Regions from separate parts of the Homo sapiens genome. Here all the other regions are linked to region 1. Evidence: promoter capture Hi-C in human tissues and cell types (Jung and others, 2019). All regions are on one chromosome and are shown on one strand. Each heading gives the region's core, a stretch centred on a gene start or on the middle of the fragment in contact. The rest is flanking DNA. Distances are from core to core; before and after follow the strand shown. Region 1 holds the start of KAZALD1 (Kazal type serine peptidase inhibitor domain 1). Region 2 holds the start of POLL (DNA polymerase lambda). Region 3 overlaps OGA (O-GlcNAcase).

Region 1 (3,483 bases), core at 676-3,175:
TTCCTGCGTGCCTGTAATCAAAACCTTCCAGATCCCCCTTCCCCTTTTCTAAACAGGCCCAGTTCCCAAAGGAGGAAAAGCAGCCGTTCCCTCCTCAGTACCCCCTGGGGGAGTCCTGCGGCAAGGCAGAGAACCTGAAGCTGGACTTGTGCGACAGGCAGGAAGCCTGCAGGAGTGGAGGAAATTGCTGGGACCCCCACGGGGTGTTTGTTTTCTGGCTGCCCCAGCCGAGCCAGACGCAGAGCCCGGGCTCAGGAAGTGAAAGTTACTAAAGCTACCAAGGAAAGCTAGAGGCCTGAATGGACCCCAGTCCCCAGGGATAGAGAAAGAACTTCCCGCTCCCCTTCACTAATCCCTAAAAGCAGGAGAAAGCAGAGAGGTGGGGAGACTGGGTGAACAAACTGCTCTAAGAATGAAACGTGATTGCATCTCACAGGAACCCGTCTTGCTGCCTGGACTCCACTGGTCTGGGAAAAGTCGGGGGGGTCTCTGAGCAAACCATAGGTTATGTGCCTGCGCCCTCAGAGGACCTGTCTCTCCCTGCCAGCCAGCTCTGGAGCTTTCACGTGGTTCAGCGAATGCAGCTTGCTGACGAAGCCCGGGACTCCCACTCCACTCCACCCCCCACCCCCACCTTAAGGTGGCAGCTTTTATGAACCAGTAGCGAGAGCAGGGTTTTATACTGGACTCGAGGCCTCTATAGCCTTATCTTTTTTGCTCTGCTGGCCAGAGACCAATGCTGTCAGGGGTCGGGGAGCAGTGCCTCTAGGAAACCTAAGTGCTGGGGTGGGGGCCCCGGGCCATGCGTACCCGATTCGCAGGGCCCCGGGTGTGCCACAGTGAGGTTGGCATCGGGCCGAGCGCGGGCCGCCTCCTGCAGGCGGCAGATCTGGGAGTAGGTGTGACCGTCGGACCCGCAGAGCGGACTCTGCGAACGACAGGCACACAGAGGTTCCGGCACCTCTCCGCGGCTCAGGTCGCCGCCTGTGTCCAGCCGGCACTCAAGCTGCTCGCCGCAGTGCCCGTAGAAGTGAGCACTGGGGTCCAGGTCGCAGAGCTGGCCCTCGAGGTTGGCGCATTCCCAGCAGCAGCCGCACGCGTCGCGCACCCTGCCCGCCAGGCAGCCCCGCGGCGCGGCGCACTCTTCTGGCCGGCAGGGAGCGCAGCCCTCGCCCTCCGCTAGCAGCCGCATCCAGCCGCGCCGCAGGTAATCTGGGCCTGGGGATGGCCTTGCGCCGGTCGGGGGCGGCGTCAGCACCACCAGCAGTAGCAGGAGCACAGGCAGCGCCAAGGCAGCTGCGGGCCGCGGCGGCGGCAGCATGGTTAGCGGGAAGCCCTGCGAGCACTCGGGGCATCAGCGCGTTCGGGCACCCTGCCAGGAAGGGAAGCCAGGTCAGGAGGTCAGAAACAGGGCCTGTGCCGAAAGACCAACCTCACTGCTTCTTGTACCAAAGCATGACACTAGCATCGCCCCCTCCCCTGCTACCAAGTAGCCTCCCCCAACACACAGGCCTAGTGACCCTCTAGGGATTATCCAGTTATGGCAGTTAGCAATCAGTTGGGCTGTTCTTGGGAGGGCTGGGAGTGAAGAGAGGTGAGGAAAGGGTGATAAGGCTCAGGCGCACGCACACCCACCACCAGCACCACTTCCGTGCACCACCCGACTCCGATCCCTGGCCCCTGAGCATCCTTGCCCAAAGAGAATGGGTGGCTCCAGAAGTAAGAAGCTGCTAATGGGGGGTGAGAACTGGGGGGGCTGATGCCGCCTCGCTTATGGCCTGGGGCACAGAGTGCTCACCTAGTGTCCGGAACTAGACCCTTCGCAGCAGCCGTGATTCGAGTCCGAAAGAAAAGGTTATGGAAAGAAAGCAGAGGCGCAGTCAGCCGGGCCCGCCGGCCACCTCTGCTCCGTCCTGAGGACTTCTGAGAGAGCCCACGAACTTGGATTCAGAAAGCAGCTCCTCCGGCCCCCTCTCTCCGCCCCTCGACTTCGCGCACCCGCCTTCCCACTAGTTCTAAGGCTGCCAATTTTATGTAGCCGCATGGGACCCTCCCGGGTCATTTCCCCCAGCCTGGCCCAAAGTCACAATGCGAGCAGAGGAGCCGTAACCAGACACCGAGGCTGGGAGAGAGGAAGGGGGTGAGGACCGGAGGCGGGGAGTGGGGGTAGGAGTTTGGCTGGGAAGCTCAAAGTGTTGGCTGAACGGCTAGGCCCTGTCCCATCTGATTTTACAGTCCCTGGCGTCGGCGAGGGCAGCTGCATAAGGGGGAGGCGGCAGGAGCTCTGGTGCCAAGTCATTTTACGTCGATGTCGGGGCGCTCCTGGAGGGCAGGACCAACCACCTTCGTCTCCCCGCAGCCCAGGGCTGGTTCCCGGGAGCGACCGCAGGCTTGCCCACCCAGCTGCCCCACCAAGGCGCGGACAGACTGGGCGCCTACATCCGCCTTCCCTCATCTGGCCTCCTTCTTCCTCCCCACATCCGGCAGGTGCTGCGACCCGCGGGTGAGCCGGGTGATTCGAGGTCGGAGCCGACCAGCGGCCGCAGGGAGAGGCGGGCTGGCGCCTCCCCGGCGGGCGTCCCTCGGGTCGGGATTACAGGTTACGGTTGCGAGGCTGGCAGGGCCGGAGACACTCGGCCTCGCGGCCGCCACCACCGCCACCGTGGCACTTTGGGCCGGGGGCGGGGAGGAGAGCATTCCTAGGGGCCCGCCAGCCAAACCCGGGTCGGGCAGGCCCCGCCCCGGCCGGCCCCAAGCGGCTCACAGAAGCCTTGGCGCAGTCCAGCTCGCGGGGGGATGGGCGAGGGTGGGGGGCAGAAATAGCAATCTGCAGCCGGCAAGGGGGCGGCACTTAGTCAGGCTCCGCCCACAAGACCCGGCTGCCGTCCCCGCCCGCCTGCGCGGGATCGACTCCGCATGCGCACTGGAGCCTCGGAATACAGCCAGGACTCTCCCGTCGGAATGCGCCCCTAAGTTGGGCCAAGCCCATTCATTCAGGGGCTCCCGAGCCACGTAGGCGCCATCCCTGGCCAGAGGGGTTCTGAGGAGGTGGGCAAGGGCAGACACTCTCTCCCGGTCTCAAATTCGAAATAGGGACTAGAAGGGAACTTCACGCGAGGCCTCGCAACTGTCGCGAGAATCAGAACAGGAAATCTAGGAACCGAGAACACTAAGAGCCCGCGGATTTTAAACAGGAAAAAGAAAGGGCGGAGCAAACTCTGGCGGATAGTTGTGAGTAATCCCTGGTCCTTGGAATAAGTGTCGACCTGAGACAGAAGGGGAACTGTCAGAGAGCTGCCGGAGACCCTGAAAAAGGCCAGAGACGGGGACTTGTGGGGCTGACGAATGGAATCACCCAAGGAGAGGTCTCTGACTCTAACAAAACACCTTGGGGACGGAGCTCCTTGGCTGGGATACAGAGCAGACAAGTCCGGGATCTTTTAGTGAATTGCTGCCGGCTTCTAAGGCCTGGAGCAGATATTC
Region 2 (3,779 bases), core at 1,162-3,661, 530 kb before region 1:
GTTCAAGGCTGCAGTGAGCTATGATCGTACCCCACAGCCTGGGTGACAGAGCAAGACCCTGTCTCTAAAAAAAAAAAAAAAAAAAGAATTTCCGTTGAGAAAGATTAAAAAGTTCTGAAGATGGTGGTGATAGTTGCACAACAATGTGAATGTACTTAATGCCACAGAACTGTACACTTAAAAATGATTAAAATGCTAAATTCTGTTATGTATTTATTACCACAATAAAAACAAAAACCACTGTCCTATGAGAAAATGTCCTAAATCTTTAGCAAGGCATAAGAGATCTATCACAATATGTCCCAACTTATCTGTCATCTCTCTTCATTTTCCACAACTTCCCCTCATTGCTCCTTGAGAAAAGGGACCTTTTTATTCTCGCTTCCATCCTGGCACCTAGAATAGTACCTGACATAGTTATAGGTGGTTTGTTCTGACTGAGTGACTGCTTTAACATTACTAAACATTTTGTTATTCCTCTAGTAATCAGGCACGTACCTTCACACCTTCACATAGGGTCCTTATATGTGAGTTGTTCTTTGAATAGCTATCCCCTCTTCTTCACTCAGCAAACGCCTATTAATTCTTTTTTTTTTTTTTTTTTCCAGTTTTTTTGAGACAGGGTCTCGCTCTGTCGCCCAAGCTGGAGTGCACTGGCATGATCTCGGCTCACTGCTGCGTCTACCTCGCTGGCTCAAGCGATCCTCTGGCCTCAGCCACCACAAGTAGCTGGGACTACAGGCATGTGCCATGATGCACGGCTTATTTATTTTTTTGTCTGAGACACAGTCTCACTCACTCTGTCACCCAGGCTGGAATGCAGTGGTGTGATCTCAGTTCACTGCAACCTCCATCTCCCGGGTTCAAGCGATTCTCCTGCCTCAGCCTCCAGAGTAGCTGGAATTACGGGTGCGCACCACCACACCTGGCTAATTTTTTTGTATTTTTAGTAGCGATGGGGTGGTTTCATCATGTTGGCTAGGCTGGTCTCGAACTCCTGGCCTCAAGGGATCCGCCCACTCGGCCTCCCAACATGCTGGGATTACAGGCGTGAACCACCACATCCGGCCATAATTTCCGTATTTTTTGTAGAGATGAGGTTTGGCCATGTTGCCCAAGCTGGTCTCGAACTCCTGAGCTCAAATGATCCGCCCACTTTGGCCTCCCAGAGTGCTGGAATTACGGGCGTGAGCCACTGTGCCTGACCTTATTAATTCTTTAGGACCCAGAAACATCATCACTTCTGTTGGGTCTTCCTCCAAAGAGATGTCACTTACACCTTCACTCTTTCCTACCATTTTATACAAGACTACAACCTCTATTTAACGCTTCTTATTATTTAAGTACATGTTTTTCCCAACCACTCTGAGTCCTGGGACAACATATCTTTTTCTTTCTGTTCTAGTTTAGAGCTTGGCACATAGTAAAAGTCTTCCTAAATGTTGCACGAACGAGTAAATGATTTTAATTTCCACAAACTCCAGGCTTCCCTGATTGGCCCCTGCCTGTGAACATGAGTCACCAGTTGTTATCTTGAAAGCCTCAGGAACTTCAGACGCAATTCATCCTGGCTACCCAGTGGGTCCAGAAAGGACCCAAGTGCACAAAGGGGCCGGCATCGGCCAATCCTAGGGTGGGGAAAAGTTAGGTATCCATGCCCCTGTGCCCACTTCTTCCAGGCACAGCCCTTGGTTCTTGCTCTAGCTCCCCTAAAGACACAGAAAATATTTAGAAGTTCACTTAACAAAAATATTACAGCTGGAAAGGACCTCAGAGATAACAATGGTAGTCCATCCACTTCATTTTATAGATGAGGAAAGTGAGGCCCAAACAAGTAAAGGAGCCGACTGAAGCGCCCGTGGTGAATTAATGGCACAGTCGGAACTAGAGCCCAGGCCTCTCTCCTCTCTAAAGTCTAAAACATTCTTGGATTTCAGTTTCCTCTTCTGTAAAACGGGGTGAAAATTAGCCTCTCAGGACAGTGGTGAGGAGCAAATGAGATAATGAATGTAAAAGAAATTACTATATTAGCAACAGAAATCAGAGCGGAGCGAGATGGTGTAGAGGAATCTAAGGGGTGTCCGGAGACATGTGTTCCAGTCATGTCATCTCTGTGAACCTCAGTCTCCTCATCTGCAAATGCAGGACCTGGCCCGGCTGACCGCCGAGACCCTTCCAGCTCTGCCGACCCAGGCCCTGAGGCCCTTCCCGGAGGGCCGGACCCTGAGGGAAAAAAACGAAGGAGCCCGTGGGGACCCTCGAGTTACCGTCCTGCAGCAGCGCAGTCTTCTGGGCTGTCCGCAGACTCTCCAACCAGCCCGTCACCGCCATCTTTCCCCTGCTAAGCAGCACGCCCAGCCGCTGCCATGGCAACCGTTCCAGAGGGTCACTTCCGGCTGACTCGGAAGCTATTCTGGCCATTTGCCCTCCTTCCCCCCTTCGTCCGCTCTCATTGGCTCTGCTGGTAAGTGGTCTATTCCTGCCCACCCCCGGGTGACTAGCTTGGCCAGTAGTCGACCCCACCCGGGGACCGACTCTGGGGGTTGGAGAGACTCTTGGGGCCGGGGTCGGGCACTCCAGCTTTCTTCTAGCCCCGAGCTGGGATTCCCTGGCCTGCGCCAGCTGCGTACACGGCGAGTACACCGCACCTGCCCGGGACTTCACCCGCAGCTGCGAGACTCCTCCATTCCCGGAGGGCTCCCCACACCTGCTGCGGCCGTGCCCCATCTCCCCGCAGCTGCGGCGCTGAGCACCCCCATGTCGAGAGGCTGAGACCAGGACAGGTGCAGGGCGTTCCCACTCACCCCCGAAAGTCCTCCTCCTTCCTCTGCGAGTCTGTGTTGGAGGTAGAGAAATAGTATGTGGGGTTTATGTGCAGGTCCTCCCCAGGCTCCGCTCCATCCCCTAAAGCTCCATTTCCTAGCCCAGCATCCCATTTGGTAAAGCCCTTCGAAGTGGGCCGCAGCAGGGCTGTGCTGAATCTTTAGCGCAACCCCTCTGAGGAATGGTGTCGTTTCCTACTCCTCAAAAGTACCCCCGATGGCACCAGCCTTCCCCTCATTTCCCGTAATACTCCAACTTCGAAAGGCTGGGGAGTGTGAAGCTAGGCTAAACCACTGAAGTTTAACCGGGTTTGAAGAGACCCCCTCCCCCGACCCGCTTCCCCAAACTGGGCTGCTACCCCCAAAGCCTGGTCAGGAAAGACCCTACCTCCATAGGCAAAGGGGTTGGAGGGCCTCAATTCTGGATTTCCACGTGCAGCAGCCCTGACCAACGCTCCAATAGGCCGGGATCCAGCCATACTTCAATGGATCCCAGGGGTATCTTGAAGGCATTTCCCAAGCGGCAGAAAATTCATGCTGATGCATCATCAAAAGTACTTGCAAAGATTCCTAGGAGGGAAGAGGGAGAAGAAGCAGAAGGTGAGCTGACCCAGTCTCAGAACCCTCGTGTGCTTGAACCCACAGCCTTCATGTGCTTCAGCCCTACGTTGTTTATGTCCAGAATCAGATATTGGAGCTGACTCTGCCTGTCCAGGGCCTGCAGGTCTGTTTGTATCTACCTTGTGCTAAGCTTGGTCCTGGGTCTTGGACAGGCTATTTGCTGTGTTACCTTCTTTTCTACCCGAAGACCTCTATCCATCAGAAAAGACTCCCTGGGCCCTCAGGGAATGACCAGTATAATTTTTGCCCTGAGGACTGGGACAGAAACCCCCCTCCATTACCCAGGCTTGTTGTTAGTTGTTTTGCAGCCAAATTGGCAAATAAATGGCAGAGGCT
Region 3 (3,786 bases), core at 409-2,908, 730 kb before region 1:
AGCCACTACGCATCAGCTAACTTTTTTGTATTTTTTTTGTAGAGATGGGGTTTCGCCGTGTTGCCCAGGCTGGTCTCAAAGTCCTGAGCTCAAGCAGTCCGCCTGCCTCGGCCTCCCATACTGCTAGGATTACAAGCACGAGCCACTGTGCCTGGCCAGTATATGCATTTTTTAGATAGTTCCTTCTTGAGGATAGTTTTTATGCACAGTAAATAAGATATTTGGACCCCTACTTGTGATACTTTTTTCTTTTCTTCTATGTTGTTTCTCTTTTCCTTTTCTAAAATTCTCTACCCCTCTCCACCACACCAAAGTATTCATAGTCTTTTTATTTATTTATTTATTTTTTTGAGACAGAGTCTTGCTCTTGTTGCCCAGGCTGGAGTGCAGTGACGCAATCTTGGCTCACCGCAACCTCCACCTCTCAGGCTCAAGCAGTTCTCCTGCTTCAGCCTCTCGAGTAGTTGAGATGACAGGCATGTGCCACCACGCCCGGATAATTTTATATTTTTAATAGAGACGGGGTTTCTCCATGTTGGTCAGGCTGGTCTCAAACTCCCGACCTCAGGTGATCCGCCCTCCTCAGCCTCCCAAAGTGCTAGGATTATAGGCGTGAGCCACCGCGCCTGGCCTCATTTTCTTCATAGTTTATTTCTATATTTTACCTTCTGCCCTTAGTCACATGGCTGTGTAACAAGAGGCTGGTTTGGTGTTGCCTCGCTTACTTGGGATTACACTGACACTATGCTGGTGATTGAGCTGCTGATGTATTGCTGTTCCACATCTGACACTTTTCAGCATAAGAACTTTTTAAAAATTGTGGTAAAATATAAATAACATAAAATTTGCACATTTTCATGTAAGGAATACGTTAATTTAAAATATTTTATGTATTTTAAATGATTTTAGATTTACAGAAAAGTTGCAGAGTTAAAACAGAGTTTCTGTATACTCCTTATCCATTTTCTGTATTGGTGAAGTCTAAGTAACCAACATGGGTATATTATTAATCAGACACCAAACTTTATTCACCAGTTTTTTCTGCTAATGTCCTTTTCCTGTTCCAGGATCCAATACCACATAGCATTTAGACAAAATTTTTTTTTTTTTTTTTGAGACGGAGTTTCCCTCTGTCGCCTGGGGTGGAGTGCAATGGTGCGATCTCGGCTCACTGCAACCTCCGCCTCCCAGGTTCAAGTGATTCTCCTGCCTCAGCCTCCCGAGTAGTCGGGATTACAGGCGCCCACCACTAGGCCCAGCCAATTTTTGTATTTTTACTAGATACGGGGTTTCACGATGTTGGCCAGGCTGGTCTCAAACTCCTGACCTTGTGATTCACCTGTCTCGGCCTCCCAAAGTTCTGGGATTACAAGTGTGAGTGAGCCACCACGCCTGGCCAGAAAACTTTTTTTTTTTTTTTTTTTTTTCCCCGCCCAGGCTGGAGTGCGGTGGCAGGATCTCAGCCTACTGCAACCTCTGCCTCCCGGGTTCAAGCAATTCTCCTGCCTCAGCTTCCCGAGTTGCTGGGACTACAGGCGCACGCCGCCATGACTGGCTAATTTTTTATGTTTTTAGTAGAGACAGGGTTTTACTTTGTTGCCCAGGCTGGTCACAAACTCCTGAGCTCAGGCAGTCTGCCTGCCTCAGCCTCCTAAAGTGCTAGGATTACAGGCGTGAGCTACTAGACCCAACCCAAACTTTTTTTTTTTTTTTTTTTTAAGACAGAGTCTCGCTCTGTTGCCCAGGCTGGAGTGCAGTGGCGCCATCTCAGCTCACTGCAAGCTCCGCCTCCTGGGTTCACGCCATTCTCTTGCCTCAGCCTCCCGAGTAGCTGGGACTACAGGTGCCCGCCAACACGACCTAATTTTTTGTATTTTTTTTTAGTAGAGACAGGGTTTCACTGTGTCAGCCAGGATGGTCTTGATCTCTGGCCCAAGCTTTTAAAAGTGAAAACGGTGGCCAGGCACGGCAGCACACACTTGTAATTCTAGCACTTCAGGAGGCCGAGATAGAAGGATCACTCGAGCCCAGGAATTCGAGACCAGCCCTGACGATATAAATAGGGAAAGAGAGAGAGAGAGAGAGAGAGCGCGTGCACGCGAGGGAGAATGCCTGCCCCTCTCCAGCCTGGCCAACAGAAGGAGATCCTGTCTCAAAGAAAGTGAAAATGCTTCAGCTAGAATTATAGGATAATCCTGTGTGAGATAATTTACATAGTGACTGGAAGAGTTATTAAATATTGCTTTCTTGTTGCTAAGTTCTGTAGTTGGGTTAGATATCTAATGCGTAACTATTGTGAAAGTCAAGAGATTCTAATTTTTCCAGAAAATAATGTTGAGTTTCCATGAAGAACAGGAAGTACTGCCAGAAACTTTCCTTGCTAATTTCCCTTCTCTGATAAAGATGGACATTCACAAAAAAGTAACTGACCCAAGTGTGGCCAAAAGCATGATGGCTTGCCTCCTGTCTTCACTGAAGGCTAATGGTGAGTACATATTTGTGGAGTTGGTGGTATTTGGGCAAGATAGGGAAAGAACTATATATTTTTGGATATAAAAGGAAAGAAGTGAATTGTAAATTTATACTGCTTTTCCCACCTTTTATGATTTGGTTTCTGAATTAATTAGTGGTGAAGAATCGCATGTGTATTAATAATTGAGAAATGCTGGTTGGGCTTAGTGGCTCATGCTTGTAATCCTAGCACTTCGGGAGGCCGAAGTGGGAGGATCACTTGAGTCCAGGAGTTTGAGACCAGCCTGAGCAATATGGCTGAGACCCCATCTCTACCTAATTTAAAAAAAAAAAAAAAAAAGGCCGGGCACGGTGGCTCACGCAGCACTTTGGGAGGCCGAAGTGGGCGGATCATGAGGTCAAGAGATCGAGACCAGCCTGGCCAACATGGTGAAACCCTGTCTCTACTAAGAGTGGTGGCAGGCGCCTGTAATCCCAGCTACTCGGGAGGCTGAGGCAGGAGACTTGCTTGAAGCCGGGAGGCGGAGGTTGCAGTGAGCCGTGATCTTGCCACTGGACTCCAACAGAGCAAGATTCTGTCTCGGGTGCGGGGGAAGCTGGGTGCAGTGGCTCACGCCACTCATTATTGAATTTTTTGAATATGAATTTTTTTAATTGTGTGAAATGTAGGAGCTGGTGTAGACAGACAAGCCCTGTTTATATTAACCATCTCGAAGATTATAGTTTTATATCTATAATTATACTAATTAAGTGACTTATTTATGTTTTGAATATTTGTTTTATTTCTAGGCTCCCGGGGAGCTTTCTGTGAAGTGAGACCAGATGATAAAAGAATTCTGGAATTTTACAGCAAGTTAGGATGTTTTGAAATTGCAAAAATGGAAGGATTTCCAAAGGATGTGGTTATACTTGGTCGGAGCCTGTGACATTTGTTGACACTGTGAACTGTCCAAAAGTCTCTTAACTGCACCTTGTGAATGGTAGTTGAGGTCTTCATACAGTTCAGCCTCTAGAATGGTAACAAATCAGCCAATTGGATTCGAAACAAAGAAGACTATGTAAAACTCACCCATCACACTTTGAGACTACTCACTGGTTGGAAGAATATAGTATTGCAGCAAATCCTGTATGAAAGAGAGATGTGGGCTTCCTTTTTGAGTCTTGTGTTAGGTGCTGAGACCTTTTACATGGGCTTATACAGGGAGAGAGTCTTCAATAAATGTAGTCAGCACTATTTTCTGCATCCAGTGTGGTTGCGTTTCTCACCTGAGAGTAATCAAGATAACATCTGTCATCTTCCTTGGTTTATTGAGT

The links. Contacts are between HindIII fragments. The study calls those that stand out against the background at their distance.
Region 2: a contact is called between the fragment with the promoter of POLL here and the fragment with the promoter of KAZALD1 in region 1, in 2 of the 25 tissues and cell types used here (aorta and dorsolateral prefrontal cortex).
Region 3: a contact is called between a fragment that was not itself captured here and the fragment with the promoter of KAZALD1 in region 1, in 1 of the 25 tissues and cell types used here (dorsolateral prefrontal cortex).

Annotation. Positions count from the first base shown.
Region 1 is chr10:101,060,431-101,063,913 of GRCh38, reverse strand. It overlaps KAZALD1 (Kazal type serine peptidase inhibitor domain 1), which reads right to left and starts at 1,925. Exons shown (of 5, transcript NM_030929.5): 1 at 1,799-1,925; 2 at 811-1,372. The coding sequence starts at 1,321. It overlaps LOC107984262 (a long non-coding RNA gene), which reads left to right and starts at 3,163. Exons shown (of 2, transcript XR_001747569.3): 1 at 3,163-3,483. RefSeq lists silencers at 1,211-1,260, 2,441-2,860 and enhancers at 1,173-2,061, 2,988-3,282. The HindIII fragment of the contact is 18,453 bases long and covers 1-3,483 here.
Region 2 is chr10:101,586,889-101,590,667 of GRCh38, reverse strand. POLL (DNA polymerase lambda) reads left to right here and starts at 2,411. Exons shown (of 9, transcript NM_001174084.2): 1 at 2,411-2,846; 2 at 3,262-3,422. The coding sequence starts at 3,308. DPCD (deleted in primary ciliary dyskinesia homolog (mouse)) reads right to left here and starts at 2,347. Exons shown (of 6, transcript NM_015448.3): 1 at 2,268-2,347. The coding sequence starts at 2,331. RefSeq lists enhancers at 2,062-2,391, 2,492-2,771. The HindIII fragment of the contact is 10,926 bases long and covers 1-3,779 here.
Region 3 is chr10:101,786,063-101,789,848 of GRCh38, reverse strand. It overlaps OGA (O-GlcNAcase), which reads left to right. Exons shown (of 16, transcript NM_012215.5): 15 at 2,326-2,485; 16 at 3,262-3,786. The coding sequence ends at 3,398. Among named protein-coding and RNA genes, the nearest start is that of NPM3, 4.5 kb to the right of the region's middle. The HindIII fragment of the contact is 7,414 bases long and covers 1-3,786 here.